Regions from separate parts of the Homo sapiens genome. Here region 2 is linked to region 1. Evidence: promoter capture Hi-C in human tissues and cell types (Jung and others, 2019). All regions are on one chromosome and are shown on one strand. Each heading gives the region's core, a stretch centred on a gene start or on the middle of the fragment in contact. The rest is flanking DNA. Distances are from core to core; before and after follow the strand shown.

The links. The method cuts DNA at HindIII sites, captures the fragments that hold promoters and counts their contacts. A contact is called where the count stands out against the background at its distance.
Region 2: a contact is called between a fragment that was not itself captured here and the fragment with the promoter of MFSD8 in region 1, in 1 of the 25 tissues and cell types used here (dorsolateral prefrontal cortex).

What each region holds. Positions count from the first base shown.
Region 1 is chr4:127,963,420-127,966,893 of GRCh38, forward strand. It overlaps MFSD8 (major facilitator superfamily domain containing 8), which reads right to left and starts at 1,754. Exons shown (of 12, transcript NM_001371596.2): 1 at 1,653-1,754. The coding sequence starts at 1,714. It overlaps ABHD18 (abhydrolase domain containing 18), which reads left to right and starts at 1,987. Exons shown (of 13, transcript NM_001358451.3): 1 at 1,987-2,187. RefSeq lists silencers at 711-820, 931-1,060, 1,071-1,120, 2,241-2,470 and enhancers at 1,561-1,980, 1,571-2,186, 2,865-3,366, 3,367-3,474. The HindIII fragment of the contact is 8,084 bases long and covers 1-3,474 here.
Region 2 is chr4:128,922,657-128,926,322 of GRCh38, forward strand. The region is part of intron 18 of SCLT1 (sodium channel and clathrin linker 1); the gene reads right to left. Among named protein-coding and RNA genes, the nearest start is that of JADE1, 110 kb to the left of the region's middle. The HindIII fragment of the contact is 3,334 bases long and covers 551-3,666 here.

The sequences.
Region 1 (3,474 bases), core at 504-3,003:
AAGAATGAAGCTGCGGACCCTCGCGGTGAGTGTTAACAGCTCTTAAGGTGGCACGTCTGGAGTTTGTTCCTTCTGATGCTCAGATGTGTTCAGAGTTTCTTCCTTCTGGTGGGTTCGTGGTCTCGCTGGCTCAAGAGCGAAGCTGCAGACCTTCGTGGTGAGTGTTACAACTCTTAAGGCGGCGCGTCTGGAGTTGTTCGTTCCTCCCCGTGGTCTCGCTGGCTTCAGGAGTGAAACTGCAGACCTTCGCGGTGAGTGTTACGGCTCATAAAAGCCGTATGGTCCCAAAGAGTGAGCAGTAGCAAGATTTATCGCAAAGAGCGAAAAAACAAAGCTTCCACACTGTGGAAAGGGACCTCAGCGGGTTGCCACTACTGGTGGGCAGCCTGCTTTTATTCTCTTATCTGGCCCCACCCACATCCTGCTGATTGGTAGAGCCGAGTAGTCTGTTTTGACAGGGCGCTGATTGGTGCGTTTACAATCCCTGAGCTAGACACAAAGGTTCTCCACGTCCCCACTAGATTAACTAGATACAGAGTGTTGACAGAAAGGTTCTCCAAGGCCCCACCAGAGTAGCTAGATACAGAGTGTCGACTGGTGCATTCACAAACCCTGAGCTAGACACAGGGTGCTGATTGGTGTGTTTACAAACCTTGAGCTAGATACAGAGTGCCGATTGGTGTAGTTACAATCCCTGAGCTAGACATAAACGTTCTCCACGTCTCCACCAGACTCAGGAGCCCAGCTGGCTTCGCCCAGTGGATCCCGCACCGGGGCTGCAGGTGGAGCTGCCTGCCAGTCCCGCGCCGTGCACCCGCACTCCTCAGCCCTTGGGTGGTCGATGGGACTAGGCACCGTGGAGTAGGGAGCGGCGCTCATCGGGGAGGCTCGGGCCGCACAGGAGCCCACGGAGTGGGTGGGAGGCTCAGGCATGGCGGGCTGCAGGTCCCGAGCCCTGCCCCGCGGGAAGGCAGCTAAGGCCCGGCGAGAAATCGAGCGCAGCGCCAGTGGGCTGGCACTGCTGGGGGACCCAGCACACCCTCCGCAGCCGCTGGCCCGGGTGCTAAGCCCCTCATTGCCCGGGGCCGGCAGGGCCGGCCTGCTGCTCCCAGTGCGGGGCCCGCCAAGCCCACGCCCACTCGGAACTCCAGCTGGCCCGCAAGCGCGGCGCGCAGCCCCGGTTCCCGCTCACGCCTCTCCCACCACACCTCCCTGCAAGCTGAGGGAGCCGGCTCCCACCTTGGCCAGCCCAGAAAGGGGCTCCCACAGTGCAGCGGTGGGCTGAAGGGCTCCTCAAGTGCCGCCAAAGTGGGAGCCCAGGCAGAGGAGGCCTGGAGAGCGAGCAAGGGCTGTGAGGACTGCCAGCACGCTGTCACCTCTCAGCTTGGGTGCTGCAACAGGCAAAGCAGCAGCCTGGGTTTCTCCAGCCCCGTCACTCGAACCCACGGGCTCATCACCGCACGGTGCGGCCAGACGCCCTTTCTCCTACGTTGGGAGCGAATCTCCTCGGCTCACACAACCCAGCCACCGGCTCCCACCGCGCTGGAACCCCTCTGGCAGCGAGGGTTTGTCCCAGTGCGGGTGACGCCCGGAAAGGAACCAGTCCCAACAGCGCAGGAGACTGAGGGGTCCCTCCACCAGGATCCGCTCACCTGCTTCCAGGTGTGTCGCCTAAGAGCGGCTCCTGTTCACTTTCGTTCCGCAGGCCGGCCATAGTTACACTCCCTACAAGGCGTCTTGCGCCCAACTCTCGCGACACCTGCTTTCTCCCATCCCGGGTGGCGTGAAGCTGGCAAAACAAGCCTGTAAGTGCGCGTGCGCACCTGACGGTCAGACGTAGGCGGAACGCCCCGAGGTCATAGGCGGGGTCACGCGGAAGGCCGGGCAGCGCAGGGCGAAAGGAGGCTGTGTCCTCAGCCTCCTCCCTCGGCACGCGCCTCCCATCCTGACGGGGACTGAGAGCCCAGGAGAGCTCGGGGCGTGTCCAAACTGCCGCGCCGCCCTGCTCCGGGTTTGTCTTCCTCCCTCCGTTTCTCCTTCCGCTGTATCTAGCATTTCGGTTCCTGGAAAGGTTACCGGAGCTGCGATTGGGGCTGGGACCAAAGTTGAGTCCTGGAAAGGGAGCCTGGAGAGCGGCGGTGCTGGGAGGCCCGGCCAGCTCGATCGCAGGCTTCCACCTGGCGGCCAGTAAGTAGCCGGTCCGGTTAAGTAGTAGGTGCGCTAAGAGCTCCCCGCGCCTCTTAGCGCGCCGTGTACGCGCCTGGAGGCAGGGACCGGGGACGCGGAGCTGGGCGGGAGACTCGCGGGTCAGGGACGCGGGGTGAGGCTGGGGGTGAGAGACAAGGCTGGAGTCCGTGGCGCGCTTCGGAGGGCTGAGATAATGGGGGCGAGCGCGCGGGCAGTCCCTTCCCCCCGTGAAAGGTAGAGGTGGCTTCCAGCTCTCTTCTCTAGCTCGGCTAAATGCAAAGGCGCCTTACCTGGAGGGCTTGTCAGAGCCAGGACTGAAGGTGGGATCTGCTGCTTGTAACCTGCAGGTCCCCGGATGCGCACCCCAACGGCGCCTGCGCCTACGGGGGCCTCAGCCTTGCAAAATGTCACTCAGCAGAGCCTGCTGCTGAAACGTGGGAGTTGAAAAAGGTACAGCACCTGCCTAGCAATGACCAGCTCCTTTCGTCACAAGGAAGATGACATTTTTAGAAAACATGTCATGGGTTTTCACTAGATCTCCATGTTTATTTCTTGGTGGTTATGTATTAACATCTTATCTCTACTATTAGGCTTGTAGGCTAGCTGGCGTCAGTAGTCATTCTGTGTCTCATAAATTACCGTTTTATTAGCGCCAGATACATTGTCATGTAATTTCATTTGATCACAAGTATCCTATGAGATAGGCGAAGCAGACACATTGCTAGTTTACTGAAAATTAAGATCCAGACAAGTTAACCCAGAGTCACTCTGTGTGGAAGTGGCAAAGTTGGAAACCAAACTTAATTTTTTTAAATTAATATTTATGAGCATTTACCCTATGCTAGGTCCTATACTAGTTACACAGTCATGTATGGTATATGCCATCACTTCTGATCTTTGTGTCATTTGTGACCTTGTGTGTATCAGCCAGGCGCAGTTCACTGGTGAACACCTAAACTTGAAACGTGCGGTCTGGGTGCGATGGTTCATGCCTGTAATCCCAGCACCTTGGGAGGCCAAGGCGGGCGGATCACGAGGTCAGGAGATCGAGACCATCCTGGCTAACACGGTGAAACCCCGTCTCTACTAAAAATACAAAAAAAAAAAAAAAAAAAAAAAAAAAAAAAAAAAAGCCGGGCGTGGTGGCGGGCGCCTATAGTCCCAGCTACTCGGGAGGCTGAGGCAGGAGAATCCCTTGAACCCGGGAGGCGGAGGCTGCAGTGAGCCGAGATCACGCCACTGCACTCCAGCCTGGGCAACAGAGTGAGATTCTGTCTCAAAAAAAAA
Region 2 (3,666 bases), core at 968-3,467, 960 kb after region 1:
GGGAGTAGGGAGATGATCAGAAAACTATCAAGTACTATGCTTATTGTCTGTGTAACAAAATAATAGGTATACCAAACCCTTGTGACATGCAACTTCCCTACACAACAAACCTGCTCATGTACCCATGAACCTAAAATAATAGTTAACAAACCAACCAACCAACCCCTTGAGAATATACAACAGCAAATTGAACATTAAAAAAGATAATTTGTAAAATAACAGATCAGAAGAGACTGTGTGACTGCAGCACAATGAAAAAAGATGAAAAATAAAGAGGGTGAGAGACAAATAAATGCAATATAACAGTTTAAAATACCTTTGATCAGAATCTTAGGAGGACAGGAGACAGTGAATCATGCAAAGGCAATATTTATTTTGGTTTTAAAATCAACCTCATTGGGATATAATTGTGGGAAATAAGGTGCAGCCATTTTGAGTGTAGAGTTTGGTGAGCTCTGACAAAAGCATACACTCATGTAACCACCGCTGCAATTAAGATACAGAATAAGCCACATGCGGTGGCTCATGTCTGTAATCCCAGCACTTTGGGAGGCCGAGGCAGGTGGATCACTTGAGGTCAGGAGTTTGAGACCAGCCTCGCCAATATGGTGAAACCCCGTCTCTACTAAAAATACAAGATTTAGCTGGGCGTGGTGGCACATGCCTGTATCCCAGCTACTTGGGAGGCTGTGGCAGAAGAATCGCTTGAACCCATGAGGCAGAGGTTGCAGTGAACCAAGATCGTGCCACTGCACTCCAGCCTGGGTGACAGAGTGAGACTCCATCTCAAAAAAAAAAAAAAAAAAAAAGATACAGAATAGGTCCATTGCCCTAAAAAGTTCCCTCTTCCCTTTTGTAGTCACTGCCCCACCCCTCAAATCCCAGTCCTAGGCATCCAAACTGTTTTATCATTATAAATTAGAATTGCCTTCTCTAGAATTTCACACATATGGGATCATACAGTATATAGTCTTCTATATCTGTTTTTTTTTCAATCTCCTTTTTGAGATTCATCCATGTTGTTGAGTGTATCAGTGGTTTGTTCCTTTTTATTTCTGAGTGTTTATCCATGCACCTGGTGATGTACATTTGGGTTCTCATTTTCAGCCATTATAAATATCTACAAACATTTGTGTACAGGTTTTTTGTGTCGATATATTTTGGTTTTATTTTTGGAAAGAGTCTTGGTCTGTTGCCCAGGCTGGAGTGCAGTGGCATGATCAGGGTTCACAGCTGCAAACTCCCAGGCTCAGGTGATCCTCCTACCTCAGCTTCCCAAGTATCTGGGACTTTAGGCATGCACTGCCATGCCTGGTTAATTTTATTATTTTTTATTTTGTAGAGACGAGGTCTCACTCTGTTGCCCAGGTTGGTCTATGTGTGGATGTGTTTTCATTTCTCTTGGGTAACATCTGTGAGTAAAACTGCATGTCTGCATGATGAGTATACATTTAACTTTGCAGTAAAATTGTCTATTATTACTGAGTTGTAAGATTAAAAAAAAATCAAGTACTTTGTCAGATATACTAATTGCAATTTTTTTCTCACAGTCTTTTTTCATTTTCTTAATGGTGGCTTTTGAAAAGCAGACATTTTAAAAATTTTATTTATTTTTATTTTTTATTATTTATTTATATTTGAGACAGAGTCTTGCTCTGTGGCACAGGCTGGAGTGCAGTAGCACAATCTTGGCTCACCACCTCCCAGGCTCAAGCAATTCTCGCTCTTCAGCTTCCTGAGTAGCTGGGATTACAAGTGTGGGCCACTATACCTGGCTAATTTTTTGTATTTTTAGTAGAGACGGGGGTTTCATCTTGTTAGCCAGAGTGGTTTTGAACTCCTAGCCTCAAGCTGATCTGCCCACCTTGACCTCTAAAAGTGTTGGGATTACAGGCATGAGCCACTGCCCCTGGCCAGAAGTTTTTAATTTAATATAGTCCACTTTATCAAATTTTTTGTACTTTATTATTGTGTCTTGGAAGAAATTTTTGCTTATCATAAGATTTTCTTTTAGATATTTTATTGTTTTCCTTTTTTATGCTTAGGTCTATGATTCATTTCAGGTTATTTTTGTGTATGGTGTGATGTAATGGCGTGGCACGTAAGCTCTGAAACGAACCTCAATGATCCCTACCTTATGAGGTCCTTATGAAGTCTCACCTATGTGGGCTCTACCCAGGGACTCACTTTTAATTGATAGAATATGGTTAACGTGATATGATGTCACTTTCAAGATTAGCTTAAACAAAGATCTTGACTTTTGTTTTACTTTCTCTCTTTCAACTTCCTTCCCTTTCTCCCTCACTCCTCTCTCCTCACTCTGAGGGAAGCAAGCTACCACATTTTAGACCCATAAAGAGACCAACAAGGCAAGGAACTGATGTCTCCTGCCAATGCCAGTTAAGACCCGAGGCCTGCCAACACCTACAGAGTGAGCTTGGGAGCAGATCCTTTCCTGGTCAAGCTCTGAGATAATGCAGCTTTAGTCAATGCGTTGATTGCAACTTTATGAGAAACCCTGAGTCAGAGGCATTCTGATTCAGACATGTCTAGATTCCTAATCCTCAAAAACTGTGAGAAAATAAATGTTCGCTGTTTTAAGTCACTAAATTTTGGAGCAATTTGTTATGCAGTAGTAGATAACTACACAAAGCGTTTTCATCAAGTTTGGAAAAAATTTGGCCGTTAGTTCTTTTTTTTTTTGGAGCTGGAGTCTCACTCTGTCATCCAGGCTGGAGTGCAGCGGCATGATCTTGGCTCACTGCAACCTCTGCCTCCTGCCTCAGCCTCCCAAGTAGCTGAGATTACAGGCATGTGCCACCACTCCTGGCTAATTTTTGTATTTTTAGCAGAGATGGGGTTTCACCATGTTGGCCAGGCTGGTCTCGAACTCCTGACCTCAAGTGATCCACTTGCCTTGGCCTCCCAAAGTGCTAGGATTACAGGCGTCAGCCACGGTGTCTGGCCCATTATTTCTTAAAACACTCCCACACTCCCATCCCTGCCCTCCTGGGACTACAGTTGTATGTATTTTATACTGCTTGATATTGTCCCTAAAGTCTCTGAGGCTCTCTGTGCATAATTTTTCTTTGGTCTTTTTTTCTCACTATGTTTCATTTTTGGATGGTTTCTTTCGCTCTCTTCAAGTTCTCTGATCTTTTCTTGTGCAGTGTATGATCTGCTGTTAATCCCATTTTGTGAGTTTTAAAATTCTCTAATATTTTTCATCCACAGGTTTCCATTGGTTCCTTTTTTGCATCTTCCACTTCTCTCCTTATCATCTTCATGTGTTCCTTTAAATCACTAAGAATATTTACAATGGCTGGTTTAAAGTTCTCATGTTTTAATAATTTTAATTAATTAATAAAAATTAAAAAAATAATAATTTTATCCCCTCTCATTTCTGGGTGTGTTTTGATGCACTAGTTTTTGTTTTTCTTTTTTTCTGGTTATGGGTACCATTTTCCTGCTTTTGTTTATCTATTTTGTTGGATTTGTTCTGGCAGGTAATTAAGTTACTTGAGGACCAGCTTGTTCATTTTGAAGCTTGTTTTTAGCTTTTTCAAGACAGATTTTCAATTCTTTTTACTCTAGGCTAGTTTAGTTTTAACAATAGGATAAAGTGATCCTGAAATCTTTATTGTATACTCTGGGTGTTCAACAAGG